Linked DNA regions of Homo sapiens: all the other regions are linked to region 4. The links are contacts of gene promoters, found by promoter capture Hi-C in blood cells and fetal thymus (Javierre and others, 2016). All regions are on one chromosome and are shown on one strand. The core of a region is centred on a gene start or on the middle of the fragment in contact, and the rest is flanking DNA. Distances in the headings are between cores, read along the strand shown.

The links. Contacts are between HindIII fragments. The CHiCAGO score rates a contact against its expected background, and 5 or more counts as called.
Region 1: a fragment that was not itself captured here is called in contact with the fragment with the promoter of NFX1 in region 4 in 2 of 17 cell types (fetal thymus and erythroblasts); the score reaches 6.5 in fetal thymus.
Region 2: a contact is called between a fragment that was not itself captured here and the fragment with the promoter of NFX1 in region 4, in 17 of 17 cell types (naive B cells, total B cells, monocytes and 14 more). The highest score is 23.1, in naive B cells.
Region 3: a contact is called between a fragment that was not itself captured here and the fragment with the promoter of NFX1 in region 4, in 1 of 17 cell types (monocytes). The highest score is 5.0, in monocytes.
Region 5: a contact is called between a fragment that was not itself captured here and the fragment with the promoter of NFX1 in region 4, in 3 of 17 cell types (monocytes, neutrophils and naive B cells). The highest score is 9.5, in monocytes.

The regions. Positions count from the first base shown.
Region 1 is chr9:33,720,640-33,723,444 of GRCh38, forward strand. No RefSeq gene overlaps it. Among named protein-coding and RNA genes, the nearest start is that of PTENP1-AS, 45 kb to the left of the region's middle. RefSeq lists enhancers at 870-1,371, 1,372-1,871. The HindIII fragment of the contact is 2,180 bases long and covers 248-2,427 here.
Region 2 is chr9:33,027,690-33,030,409 of GRCh38, forward strand. It overlaps DNAJA1 (DnaJ heat shock protein family (Hsp40) member A1), which reads left to right. Exons shown (of 9, transcript NM_001539.4): 4 at 2,196-2,300. Among named protein-coding and RNA genes, the nearest start is that of DNAJA1, 3.8 kb to the left of the region's middle. The HindIII fragment of the contact is 755 bases long and covers 1,069-1,823 here.
Region 3 is chr9:32,983,774-32,986,598 of GRCh38, forward strand. It overlaps APTX (aprataxin), which reads right to left. Exons shown (of 8, transcript NM_001195248.2): 5 at 2,198-2,257; 6 at 858-1,084. Among named protein-coding and RNA genes, the nearest start is that of APTX, 16 kb to the right of the region's middle. The HindIII fragment of the contact is 1,664 bases long and covers 716-2,379 here.
Region 4 is chr9:33,289,259-33,291,958 of GRCh38, forward strand. NFX1 (nuclear transcription factor, X-box binding 1) reads left to right here and starts at 1,258. Exons shown (of 24, transcript NM_002504.6): 1 at 1,258-1,339. The coding sequence starts at 1,315. It also overlaps the pseudogene LOC100862682. RefSeq lists enhancers at 1-148, 854-1,273, 1,284-1,333, 1,303-2,502, 1,484-1,533. The HindIII fragment of the contact is 6,050 bases long and covers 1-2,700 here.
Region 5 is chr9:33,003,366-33,006,065 of GRCh38, forward strand. It overlaps a transcript of APTX not described here. Among named protein-coding and RNA genes, the nearest start is that of APTX, 3.1 kb to the left of the region's middle. The HindIII fragment of the contact is 833 bases long and covers 850-1,682 here.

The DNA.
Region 1 (2,805 bases), core at 88-2,587, 430 kb after region 4:
ACTGAGATCTCTGTAAACAGCAGAGATCAGTAATACAGGCTTTGCCCTGCTGAAACTTCCCTCTGAAAGGAAGCATAATGCTTTCAGCCAAGTGCCTGCCCAGAGCTCTAAATAGATAACAGTTTAGAAGGGGGGTGTGATCACCAAGGGTACAGATGGGCTTCACAGAGCCCATAACCCCCACCAAAATTGAATGCCAATGTGTATAGGTGTGTGCCTAGGTGCATTTTCCTCAGGAAAGGTCCAAAGCTTTCATAGGATTCTCAAATGGATCTAGATCACATAGAGAGAGGAGAGGGGGTTGTCAGCAGGAGCAGCCCAGGAGACACTCAGTGAGAATACGCAAGGGTCTGCACCTGTCAGACTTTGGTCTGCATAATTATATGCATAATTTGCATATAATTTGGTATGCAAGATTGCAATGCGATTAAGCTATCTTGCAGTATCTTAAAGAAACTCTGGTAAAGGGTACCCTAGATACTAGTAAAATGAATTAGCTGTGCACATATGTGGAGGAGATTGTAACTGGGGTGGAAGTAAGACTTCACTGTATACCTTTCTGTGTGAATTGATTTTTGAGCCAATGTAATGCCTATTCTAAAACAAAATATAGCACTTCATATAAAGGGCAAAATTAAAACATAATGGAAAAACTACCAAAACCCAATGAGGAAGTCATTGTTCCAATGCCCAAGTTGGGGTGGAGTGAAGCAGAGAACATTCTCCACCACTTTGCAGGTGTGGAGGAATATGGCTGGACGGAATTCGCAGAAGAGCACAGCTCCCGTGGACTCTGTCCTTCCAGAGCCTCTCAACCCTTGTCAGCCTGGGAAGGGGGCCTGAACCAGTGAACCAGAGCCTCTCAAATGTCAGCCTGAGTAATTTTTTGCCTCTAAGTATTCTTTTGTGGCTTCTTCTGAGAAGGTTCACAAATTTTCCTTTTCTTTACAGACATCTCACAAATCCTTAAGGAGGAGGCTGTGTCCCTAGAGTCCTGTAGTCGAGACATTTGAGAATTTGGGACCCAGTTGGAAGTGGTTGCGTATTTCCATTGTGTGGGAATATGTAAAAGGCCCAAGCCTCACCAAGAAGGGAAGACCAGGCTGCTCTCATCTCAAGGGCCAGTTGCTTCACACACCGGAGTGGGCCTAATGTTCAAGGAGCTTCTTTCTCCATTTCTCCCCACAGTGCTTAACGTCTCAGGCCACGGGCTGCCAGCACTCACCTGCCGAGGCCGCCCTGCGGCCTCCCTGTTCTGAGGCCCCTGCCTCTCCCTGATGAAACTTCCTCCGTGCTAACTTGGCAAGAAAAGGCAAACGCTGCTGTGCTTCCCTTTGCCCTTGAAAAGAATGAGGTTTAGGGGAGGCTCTGCACAGTCCTGTGCTGTCCGGGATAGCTGAGCAGAAGCTGTTGAAGCCGGCCTGCTGGACTGAGCTTGGTCCAGCAGCCTATCCACGTGAGAGCCCTGGCTATCTGGAGGCACAGGGAGCTGCTGGGCCTGCAGCGTCCCACCTGGAGGGAAAGAACGCACCGCCAAGGAGGCGTGGGCCCTGCAGCCCGTGCTGGGCCGCGAATCTGGTAGCCACGCTTCTCCGGCGGAACGCGGCGCCCCCTGGCGGCAGAACGCTTGTGGCCGCCGTTACACTCGTGTGGAAACAGCGCCATCTGCCGAATGCTCCATCTCATTGCTGATTGGCCCACACAGACTTTGTAAGGATTTTTCCTTCTGCTTGCTTAAATCAGGCCATATTGAGCCTATTCAAAGTGTACTTCTGAAATGAAAAAAGAAAGTGACTGTACAAGATGTTTTGCTCACTGGAAAAACGAGGATGAATGGAAAATGGGTAGCGATTATCTGAATAATATGTGCTTCCTGTCTGTAGTGAGGTGTGAACATGGTGGGGCCGCACATTGCAGAGGAAAACGCATGCATTTTGGAGTCAGGCAACTGCGATCAAATTCTTACTAGCTTTGTGAGCTAGGAAAGTTACTTAGCATTTCCAAGCCTCATTTGTCCTTATCTGTAAAGTAGAAGTACATTTACCTTGCAGCATTGTAGCAAAAGTTAAATAAAACAATGTGCATAAAATGAAAATTAAATGTGTATGAAGTAAGATAATATATATAATAGGTAGACTTTAAAGTATAACATAAAAATATCACATAGCCATTTTTTTCTAATTGTTAGAATTGTGAAATATTCCTGAAATGGATTTATCAAATGAGAAGACAGAATCTCTCTGAGGTATTTTTAAATTTTCTCTAGAATGGTTGATTCTGACCTTTCTGTAAAAGACGATCTATTTCTGGGCACAGATCCTAGAAACAGAATTCTGCCAAAGTGAGACTCCACTAACATTTATTGAATGTCTGCCGCATGCTACACACTTTCAAAGATGCTCTTTCATTATCGCCAGTAAAATCTGAAGCTTCAGGATCTATTCCTCTTCCCAGCAGAAAGTTTTGCCAGGAATATCAGAACCTCTTTTTTACAGCCTCTCAAGTACTTTCAAGATTATTCAGAAAAGCCCAAAACTTTGAACAACCCAAATGCCAATTAACAGGAGAATCAACGATACTACATCCATACAATGAAATATTACTGGGCAATGAAAAAGACAAACAACCAGATAAACATCATAGGAGGGACTCTCAAATCTGAGGCAAAAATAGTCAGGCCAAAAAATATACTGTATTTGCATGAAGTTCTAGAATATGAAAATCTAATTGATGGTGGTAGAAATCAGAATCGTTGTCCGCACAGGATAGGCGTGGGGATTGACTGCAGAGGGGCACTAGGGAACT
Region 2 (2,720 bases), core at 196-2,695, 260 kb before region 4:
AAACTACAGAATTAGCTGGGCGTGGTGGTGGGCATCTGCAATCCCAGCTCCTCTGGAGGCTGAGGCAGGAGAATCGCTTGAACCCTGGAGGCAGAGGTTGCAGCGAACGGAGGTCACGCCACTGCACTCCAGCCTGGGCAACAAGAGTGAATCTCTGTCACAAAAAACCCAAAAAAATCCAAAAATTAGCCAGGCATGGTGGTGCGTGCCTGTAATCCCAGTTACTCAGGAGGGCTGAAGCAGGAGAGTCGCTTGAACCCGGGAGGTGGAGGTTGCAGTGAGCTGAGATCGCCCAATTACACTCCAGCCTGAGCAACACAGCGAGACTCTTGTCTCAAAAAAAAAAAAAAAAAAAAAAAAAGACAAAGTATATAGCAATATAATTTTCCAAGCCCTTTTTACAGATCTTATTTGGTGTTCCCTCACTCCCCAAAGGAATTTGATGGTAGGTACAGTGGCCTTTTTCAAATGGGAGTAAGTTAAAGTTCAGAAACCTAAAACTTCTTCAAGCTCATATAGCAAGCCAACAGAGCCAGGGCTGAAAACTGGTTCGTTGCCTGCCATCTATCTATTCTTGTTTCAGCTTTATTGTGTCAAAATTATGTATTTAATATGTTTATCAGGAAAGTGGCCTATGGGCTCTAGAAATACTGCTTATAGGAGTAAAATGTTCAAGAGAAATCAGTCTCACTTTATTTCCAGTATAGTGTATACAAATAAGGGCTGATGAGCAGAACCAGTTTTAGAATGAATGGCCAAGCCATTAAATTTCACTTTGAGCTTCTTAAGGTTCAGAAAGATTTGGGAAATTGTTTATTCAGTTTTTCTTTAAAGATCTTCAAGGAAAGGATTATGTTTTTATTAAGATACTTAAACTCCTTAAAAAGAAAGTCCACAATCCAAATGACTTGCTTAGTAAATTGTTAGAATTTGTCCACAAAAAAGTAGTGGTGGTTTTTCACTTACCTTACAAAGAACCTGCAGGTTAACATTGGCAAGCTCTTTTATGTGGCTTATGATCATATTGAGAGGTTATTTCTGGGGAAATGCGCTTCATCAAGCTCTAGAAGCTTTATTTTTCCTTCCTTATACTCAACACTGTTCAAAATAAGGGCAGCTAGATTTTAGCGTGCCAAAACTAAAGGTGGAACTATAAGCAGAAGGACATAATTAATGGTATTTCATGCTTGATTAGAAAGTTAAAATGTTCATTAGGCATATTGTACAGAAACGAGTTTGAGAACTTTTTTCAGTTGGTGGAAAGGCAATAATATTGTTGTGAATAAGTCCTTGTGGAAGGACCACTAGTTAGGAACTTACTAACTTACTAGCAGGTGACTTCATACTTCTAACCTCAGTGTCCTTATGAGATCTTGACCTTCCATTTCCTATTCTGATTTAAGTGAAGTAAGGCACTCCTTAGTAGCCACTGGCCATGTGTGGCTCCATTAATTTAAGACAAAAACAAAAATACGGTTTCTTAGTCTAAATGGCCACATTTACATGCTCAATAAGCACATGTGATTGGTGGCTGCTACGTTGGACAGAACAGATATAAAACATTTATCACTGCAGAAAGTTCTGTTGGGCAATGCTATTATAAAAGGTATGAGAAATTTGGCCTTCAAAACAACCAGTGCTGGCCCAGCAGTAAATGGGCTGTTTTCTACTAAATCAGGAAGAAGTAGAAATTGATACTCTTCTGTGGTGACTCAATAAATACATCAGCTTCCCTGGCCAATCTTGATTAATGAGAATTTACTGTGCTACAGAATTTTTGGATGAAGTAATTGGCCATGTTGCTCAATACGGTACGAAGTGAAAGCTTCAAAAAATATATTGTGACAGAAATGAATGTTTGGATTATTGTGAAATGTGCCCTTTTAAATAACATTGGTTTTTCTCAAGTGACTTTGAAGGTAATGCTTTTGCTTACCATATTTCCAAGATGGCCACGTCTGTGCCCTTAAGCAAATATTTAATCTCTGACCTGATTTTCCCTCATCTGTGATTACATCACAGTTTGAGGATCATCTGTGATAACGTGAACATTCTGTGTATATAGTAGGTAGTCAACAGATGTACCCTGTGAGGCTCATCTTTTATTATTCTTTGCCACATTCTTTATAGTGCCTTTAGCACAAATAAGATCCAGCATCTTAAACAGATTTGCAATGAGAAATATTTTGTTTTAGGTAAAAATGTTGTACATCAGCTCTCAGTAACCCTAGAAGACTTATATAATGGTGCAACAAGAAAACTGGCTCTGCAAAAGAATGTGATTTGTGACAAATGTGAAGGTACGGTGTTTTTTTGTTTTGTTTTGTTTTGTTTTTAAGCACCTTTAATATGACACCTGAAAATGGAGCTAAGACTTCTAGATAGATATGTAAAATTGATTCATGTACACTACCTAGATTTTGGGGGAGGAGAGGGCAGATATGAAGAAAACCAACTGAAAACCTCCCACCTAAAGAAATATCAGCACTTTTTTCTGTGTATATTTTAAATACAGTTGGGATCAAGCTAGTTTGGTATCTTTTTTGTAATAAGTAAAATTTATTGGAAAGTGTGTTCTAATAAGAATGAAACTCATTGGAATGATCTCATCAGTTGTACATTCAGAGGGTAGCATTCCATCAGGCTTCGAAAATATTAAAAGTATAGCATTTAGGAATTGTCTTCTTAAAACATTTACTACTGTATACACTACTAATTCA
Region 3 (2,825 bases), core at 298-2,797, 310 kb before region 4:
GATTCCTCTAATATGAGGTACCTAGAGTAGTCAAATTCACAGGGAAGGAAAGTACAATGGTGGTTGCCAGGAGTGGGAGGGGGAAATGGAGAGTTATTATTTAAGGTACAGAGTTTCAATTTGGGAAGAGAAAACAGTTCTGGAGATAGATGGTAGTAATGGTTGCATAGTAATATGAATATAGTAATGCCAATGAATTGTACACTTAAAGATGACTAAAATGTAAATTTTGTTATGTATATTATATCACAGTTTTTTAAAAACAAAATAAAAACTCTAAAATCTAGACTTATCATCTTATTGCTTAAATCAAAGAAATCACGGAGATCCACCTTGCTTGTATTCTTTGAAAGAAATCAGTCATTCCTTTCTGAATCCTTCTGGGCATAAGCCACAGGAAAACAAATTCTATACTTTTCTCTCATTTTATTTTCAAATCCTGGATCTACTACGCTGTCATTACAGAAGTCTATGATGTTTGTTTCCTTCAGAGTAATGGTCCTTAATCATTCTGGGGTTATAGACGCTTTTGAAGAATCTGATAAAAGCCACTGACCACAATTCTTTATCTGAGGATAATGAAGCTGCTTCATCTAGTTCATATATTAGGCTCTCGAAGATTTATATTTTGAGAGGAACAAAGAACCAAATATGACTGAATTATAGGCAGAAGTGGGAACTCAAAGCTTGCATGCAAGTCAGGCAGAGAGGTGGAAGCTTCAGCCCACCTGCTTTGGAAAAACTCCATCCCACTTCCCTGGGTCTCAGTGCAATATGTGCCCTCAGCAAGCCCAGGCTGAATCTATCTGCCCACCTGGACAGAACCAGGAGCCAGCAGCACTACCCACCTGGCTTACCTCATACTCGGAATGGCGTGGTAGCCCAATCGGAAGCGGAGTTTGCTGGACCCAGCAAAATCTACAATCACCTTTTCCCCCACAGTGTGCATATGCTTAAGGAGTTCAAGGTGTTCCCTGGCCACAGCCTTCAGACTGGAAATGGAGGTCCACGGTAAGACCAGCCAATGGTAACGGGCCTTTGGGTATTTATCCTTTATCACCACCACCTGCTCATCTTTGTAAACCTAGCAGAGGGATACAAGAGAAGGAAACAGACATCTACTAAGAATCTTCTGTGTGCCTGGTTGTTATATTCACTAAGTCACTTAATTCCCACAGTCTTGTGCAAATGGTTTTAATAGCCCAGTTTTGAGAGAGGAGAGCACTGAAATTCAGACAGGTTGAGTGTCTTGCACAAGTCATAGTTCCTAAGAGGGAAATCTAGGATTCCAACTCAGATGTGGTTGACTCCAGAGTCTGTTTTCAACCACCACACTACACAGAATACACAGAAGATGCACAGTACAAAATAGTTCCCAAGAATGTGATGTAAAATCTCTGTAGACATAAATTCAAAAGCATCCTTCTCCACTCCAACATGGCAGACTGTGTGACACGTACACGTGGGTTCCAGTGAGCCCTATTAGACCTGCCCCTTGTCAACAAGGAATATAATTGAAGTGGGACTCAAAGGCTCCTCAAGGATGATGCCTGTTTTTTTTTTTTTTTTTTTTTTTTTGAGATGGAGTTTCGCTCTTGTTGCCCAGGCTGGAGTACAATGGTGCAATCTCAGCTCACCGCAACCTCCACCTCCCGGATTCAAGTGATTCTCCTGCCTCAGCCTCTCGAGTAGCTGAGATTACAGGCATGCACCACCATGCCCAGCTAATTTTTTGTATTTTTAGTAGAGACAGGGTTTCTCCATGTTGGTCAGGCTGATCTCGAACTCCTGACCTCAGGTGATCCTCCCGTCTCGGCCTCCCAAAGTGCTGGGATTACAGGGATGTCTGACTGTTAATGCCAGGGCAGCACAGTACTACTGTCACAGTGTATTATCTCTGATGCTCCCCTGAAAGGAACCATACTAAGGTTAATGCAACTTCCCTTAAAGTACCCAGAAGTTTAAAAGGCACAAGGCAGAGGGGATATTCATTTGAAGAACTCAGCTTTCTCTCCAAACAATGACAGCTGCTACTTTATTGCCAATGTGAAAAGCCTCTTGTTCTCACAGAACAGCCCAATAAAATGAATCTCATTCAGAAAGACTGATATCCTTTGATTTCATTTGTAATTAAGACCTCTGTGGAGTGGTCATTTACAACATGAAATGTACTGAAATTCCAAAATTGTATTCTGACCTGCATTTTGGGGTCCTGCATAGAAATCTTCAAGCCTTGACTCCAGTGGCCCAGGGATTCCTAAAAAAAAAACAAAAAAAAAAACAAAAAAAAAAAAAAACAAGCAATGTAAATTACAAATGCCAATAATTAAATTTGGCAACAGTTAATACTGTGTGATAGCACAACTAAACTTGGAAATAAGCTTAGTTTTTGAGAATTAAACAAGATTCACTTGACTCTGCTTCACTCCATTGCCTTCCTATATTCTCTTTTTTTTTGAGACAAAGTCTCACTCTGTCTCACCCAAGCTGGAGTGCAGCGGCGTGATCACTGCAACCTCCGAAGTGATTCTCCTGCCTCAGCCTCCCAAGTAGCTGGGATTACAGGTGCCCACCACCACGCCCAGCTAACTTTTGTATTTTTTAGTAGAGACGGAGTTTCACCAGGTTGGCCATGCTGGTCTTGAACTCCTCACCTCAGGTGATCCACTGGCCTCCACCTCCCCAAGTGCTGGGATTACAGGCGTGAGCCACCACACCCGACCCTATATTCTTTCTTTTTTTTTTTGAGATGGGGTTTCGCTCTTGTTGCCCAGGCTGGAGTACAATGGCGTGATCTCGGCTCACTGCAACCTCTGCCTCCCGGG
Region 4 (2,700 bases), core at 8-2,507:
CCCCCACTTCCAGGACTTAGTTGGGGCGGGGGGCCCAGCTCCTGGGCCTAGGGTCTTCTCACCCCCACCCCCTTGTCCTGGGTAGGCCCCTGCCTGCCCCTCTCTGCCTTTTCCTCGGGTGTCCCTCCTCGAGCCCCTGCGGCACTGGCTTGGGTGGCAGAGCCCACTTGTTTCAGGGACCCCAGGAGGTGGTGCCCCCTGGCTCCTGGGACTGTGTGTGGGTCTGGGGGGTGGGGGGGTGGGGAGAAGCGTCGGGCAGGGGGTGCAGGGGAGGAAACTCCTCACCAGGAAAGCCAAAGACAGGGTTGTGCCTTACCTCAGGAGCCACCCGTTCCCCCTTGCCCTGCCGTTCACCCTCCACCTTTCCCCCCGGGCGGCCTGCTGCTTTTTCCTTCTCTTCCTCCCCTGCCCTGCCCTGAGCTGCATGGTTCCCCTACCCTGGGAAGCCAGGAAGGAATCTGAATGGAGAATCACCAACCACCAAAGAAAAAAAGACTGCGGGGCCCTCCCCTGCCAACTCCCCTTCCCTGGCCGCCCACTCACCCACACCTCTTTCACGCAGGACAGGCTGCCCACCCTGTCCACGTGAAGTGCCAACGCCCTCCCCACCCTGGGCCGAGCCCCCACCCCTCCCTGGGCCCCCAAGTGAGATTGCACATTTAACTACTGTAAGGAGAGGAGCGGCGTTGGCAAATGTGAACCATGAGAATATCGGTGATACTGATGAGAATAAACGCCTTTGTAAAAAAAAAAAAAAAAAAAAAAGTCTGGAGCCAGGCGTGGTGGCTCGCCTGTAAGCCAAGCACTTTAGGAGGCCAAAGCGGCAGGATCGCTTGAGGCCAGGAGTTGGAGAGACTAGCCTGGGCAACATGGCGAAACCCGTCTCTACTAAAAATAGCTGCGCATGGTGGCTCCGCCTGTAGTTCCAGCTACCGGAAGGCTGAGGCGGGAGGATTAGAGACTGAAGCTATAGTGAGCCATGATCAGACCACTGCACTCAAGCCTGGGTAAGGCAGCAAGACCCTATATCAAAAAATAAAAAAAGGAAAACCACAATGATTACGCAAGTCGCCGCCCTCCCTCCTGCGATTGTTGCTATTTCCATCCAGCTACTAGTCTCCTCCTCCCGCCCGACACCTGGCGCGTCTATCTGACGTCACGAACGCGCCACACAGATTCGGGCTGCGCAACCTCTGTGGCCGTCTACACGGCGCGCAGATGCGAATATTCTCGCGGCGCCGGAAGTCCGGGGCACGTGACCTGGTGACAGTGCTGACTTGGCTGTACAGCTCGATCTAGGTTCTGCGGCACGGGATGGCGGAGGCGCCTCCTGTCTCAGGTATTGTCCCGGCCCGAGCGGGACTGGGCCCCTTTCAGGGAGCGGAAATTGGGTCAGTGACGAAGTTCTAGGGCCTCAGCCACTCATATCGCGAGAGTAGCACATGCTAGGGCGTAGGATAGTGGCTCGGAAGGGCCAAGCCCCGCGCATCGTGCGTACGAAGATCTGTGTCTTCTTGGACTAGATGGTGAAGCCCAGTAGCTGGGTTTCGGAGGAGAGAGGACTTGTCCCGGCGCTGCGAGTCGATGTGGGTGCCCTGCCTTCCCACAGGCTGTTTCTGGGGCAGCGGCGCACTGACCTTCGACAGGCGGGCGTCGGCCAGGTCACAGCCAGTGACGGTGGCGGGCTCTTGACGTGTAGGGTGTGGTGTGCTCATACCGCCTGGAGTGGTGGCGTGGGCGCGAGCCGAATTCCAGTAGTTTAGAGTCTCAGCCTGCTGCGAACCCCGTGTGACTCAGTCTCAGTCTCCTCATCTGTCAGTTGGGAGTAGATAAGTTAATTCCTGTGATGGCTCCCGCCCTGTACTGTACCTATTCTGTAATTGTTCACTCACTCCCCCTCCTGGAGTTGCCTCAGTGTGTAGAGACAGCCTCATTTGTTCGTTGATATAACATCCATTTCCTCAGGGTGTTCCATAGATCAGTGTTTTCCAAATGTGTTGGACAGCAACCAAAAGAAACATTTTGCATCGCGACCTTAAATATTGTACACTTACATAAATATAAAAGCGAACCAGAAGTTTCTGGAAGCAGTGAGGTTGGTTGGTTTGTTTTACAATCAGCAATATATTCTGTTTTCTGTTTCGTTTAAAAATATGTCACAGCCCACTGCCTTCATTTGATTTTATGGCCCACTCTGGAAAACAGGGCAGCAGTTTGCAGAATGGAGTTTGGAAACCATTGGTTTGAATCTCAGCTCTGTCCCTGACCAGCCGTTGGGGCACCAAGAAGACCATATATGTATTTGTATACTGGGTGGCAGGTAAAATGTATTTATTACTATGGTTCTTAGTTTAAAAAGTTAGGGCCGGGCGTGGTGGCTCACGCCTGTAATCCTAGCACTTTGGGAGGCCGAGGTGGACGGATCACGAGGTCAGGAGATCGAGACCATCCTGGCTAACACGGTGAAACCCCGTCTCTACTAAAAATACAAAAAATTAGCTGGGCATGGTGGCACGCGCCTGTAGTCCCAGCTACTCCGGAGGCTGAGGCAAGAGAATTGCTTGAACCCTGGAGGCGGAAGTTGCAGTGAGCCAAGATCGTGCCACTGCACTCCAGCCTGGGCGACAGAGTGTGACTTCGTCTCAAAAAAAAAAGTTGGAAAACACACTGCATTGGTGTACCCTAGTCTTGATGTGGATA
Region 5 (2,700 bases), core at 16-2,515, 290 kb before region 4:
CCAGAACTTTTTCATCTTGAAAAACTGAAACTCGGCCAGGCACGGTGGCTCACACCTGTAATCCCAGCACTTTGGGAGGCCAACGCAGGTGGATTACCTGAGGTCAGGAGTTCAAGACCAGCCTGGCGTGGCGGAACTCGCCTGTAGTCCCAGCTACTTGGGAGGCTGAAGCAGAAGAATTGCTTGAACCCGGGAGGTAGAGGTTGCAGTGAGCCAAGATCACTCCACTGCACTCCAGCCTGGGCGATAGAGCAAGACTCTGCCTCAAAAAAAAAACTCCGTATCGATTAAATAGCTCCCTATTTTCCCTCCCCCACCTGGCAACCACCATTCTACTTACAGTTTTCATGAGTCTGACCACTCTAGGTACCTCATGTAAGTAAAATCAGACAGTATTTGCCCATTTGCGACTGGCTTATTTCACTTAATATAATGTCCTCAAGTTTCATCCACATTGTATCATGTGTAAAAAGTTCCTTTTTAAAGCTGAATAACACTCCATTGCATGTACACACCATACTTTATCCATTCATCCACCCGTGGATATTCCACCATTTGGCTATTGTGAATAATGCTGCTATGAACATGAGTGTATAAATATCTCTTTGAGATCCTGTTTTCACAATTTGCAATTGCAAGAACATGGAACCAACCTAAATGCCCATGAACTGATGAATGCATAAAGAAAATGTCGTACATATACACCACAGAATACTACTCAGCCATAAAGAAGAATGAAATAATGTCTTTTGAAGCAACTTGAATGGAACTGGAGGCCATTTTTCTAAGTGAAGTAACTCAGGAATGGAAAACCAAATACCACATGTTCTCACTTATAATTGGCAGCTAAGCTTTGGGTATGTAAAGGCATACAGAGTGGTATAATGTTCATTGGAGATTCAGAAGTGGAGAGAGTGGGAGGAAGATGAGAGATTTTAAAAAACTACATATTGGGTGTAACTATTACTCGGGTGATAGGTACACTAAAATTTCAGACTTCACCATTATACACTTCATCCATGAAACCAAAAACCATTTGTACCCCTAAAGCCACTGAAATTTGTTTTTAATGTGAAACAATTTTTAAAAATTCTTCTTTCAATTATTTTGAATATATACACAGAAGTGAAACTGCTGGATTATATGGTAATTCCATTTTTAATATTTTGAGGAACTGTCACACTGTTTTCCATAGCAGCTGGATGATTTTACATTTCTACCAATAGTGTACAAGAGTTCCAATTTCTCCACATTCTTGCCAACCCTTTTTTTTTTTTTTTTTTTTGAGATGGAGTCTCGCTCTGTCACCCAGGCTGGAGTGCAGTGGTGCAATCTCGGCTCCCTGCAACCTCCACCTCGCGGCTTAAGGCGATTCTCCTGCCTCAGCCTCCTGAGTAGCTGGGACTACAGGTGCCTGCCACCACACCCGGGTAATTTTTGTATTTTTTTTTTTTTTAGAAGAGATGGGGTTTCACCATATTGGCCAGGCTGATCTCAAACTCCTGACCTTGTGATCCACCCACCTCGGCCTCCCAAAGTGCTGGGATTACAGGTGTGAGCCACTGCGCCCGGCCGCTTGTTACTTTTTTTTGATAGCAGCCATCCTAATGGGTGTGAAATGGTATCTCATTGTGGTTTTGCTTTGTATTTCCCTAATGATTAGTGATGTTGATCTTTTCATAAGCTTCCTGTCTATTTGTATGTATTTGGAGAAATGTCTATTCAAGTACTTCATTTTTTAATGGGGTTATTTTTGTTTTGTTTTGTTGTAGGAGTTCTTTATATATTCTGGATATTGACCTCTGATCAAATATAAGATTCCCATTTCATAGGGTGCTTTTCACTCTGCTTGCTGGCTGTATCCCTGGATGCACAAAACTTAATTGTGAAGTACTTTAATTTACCTATTTTTACTTTTGCTGCCTGTCTTTTGGTGTTATATCCAAGAAAACATTGCCAAATCTGTCATGAAACTTTTCCCTTATGTTTTCTAAGAGTTTTATAGTTTTAGGTCTTATGTTTAGGTCTTTGATCCATTTTTGAGGTGTGGTTTTATTTTTTTGTTTTTTGTTTTTGTTTTTGTTTTTGTGAGACAGAGTCTTGCTCTGTTGCCCAGGCTGGAGTGCAGTGATGCAATCACAGCTTACTGCAGCCTTGACCACCCAGACTCAAACAATCCTCCCACCTCAGCCTCCCAAGTAGCTGGGACTACAAGCATGTCCCACCAAGCCTGGCTAATTTTTTTTTTAATAGAGACAGAGGTCTTGCTATGTTGCCCAGGCTGATCTTGAACTCCTGGGCTCAAGCAATCCTCCTGCCTCAGCCTCCCAAAGTGCTGACATTACAGGTGTGAGACACTGTGCCTGGCCTTGAGTTCATTTTCTGTACTATGTAAGGTAAGGCTCCAACTTCAATTTTTTGCATGTGGATACCCAGATTTTAACAATATCATTTGTTGAAAAGACTGCCCTTTCCTCACTGAATGGTATTGACATACTTACTGAATATCATTTAATCATTTATGCAAGGATTTACTTCTGGGATTTCTATTGTATTCCATCAGTCTGTATGTCTGTCTTTACACTAGTACTGCACTGTTTTGATTACTATAGCTTTGTAATACTTTTTGAAATCAGGAAGTATAAGAACTTTATTCTTTTTTTTTTCAAGATTGTTTTTGGCTACTCTGCTCAGGGTTTT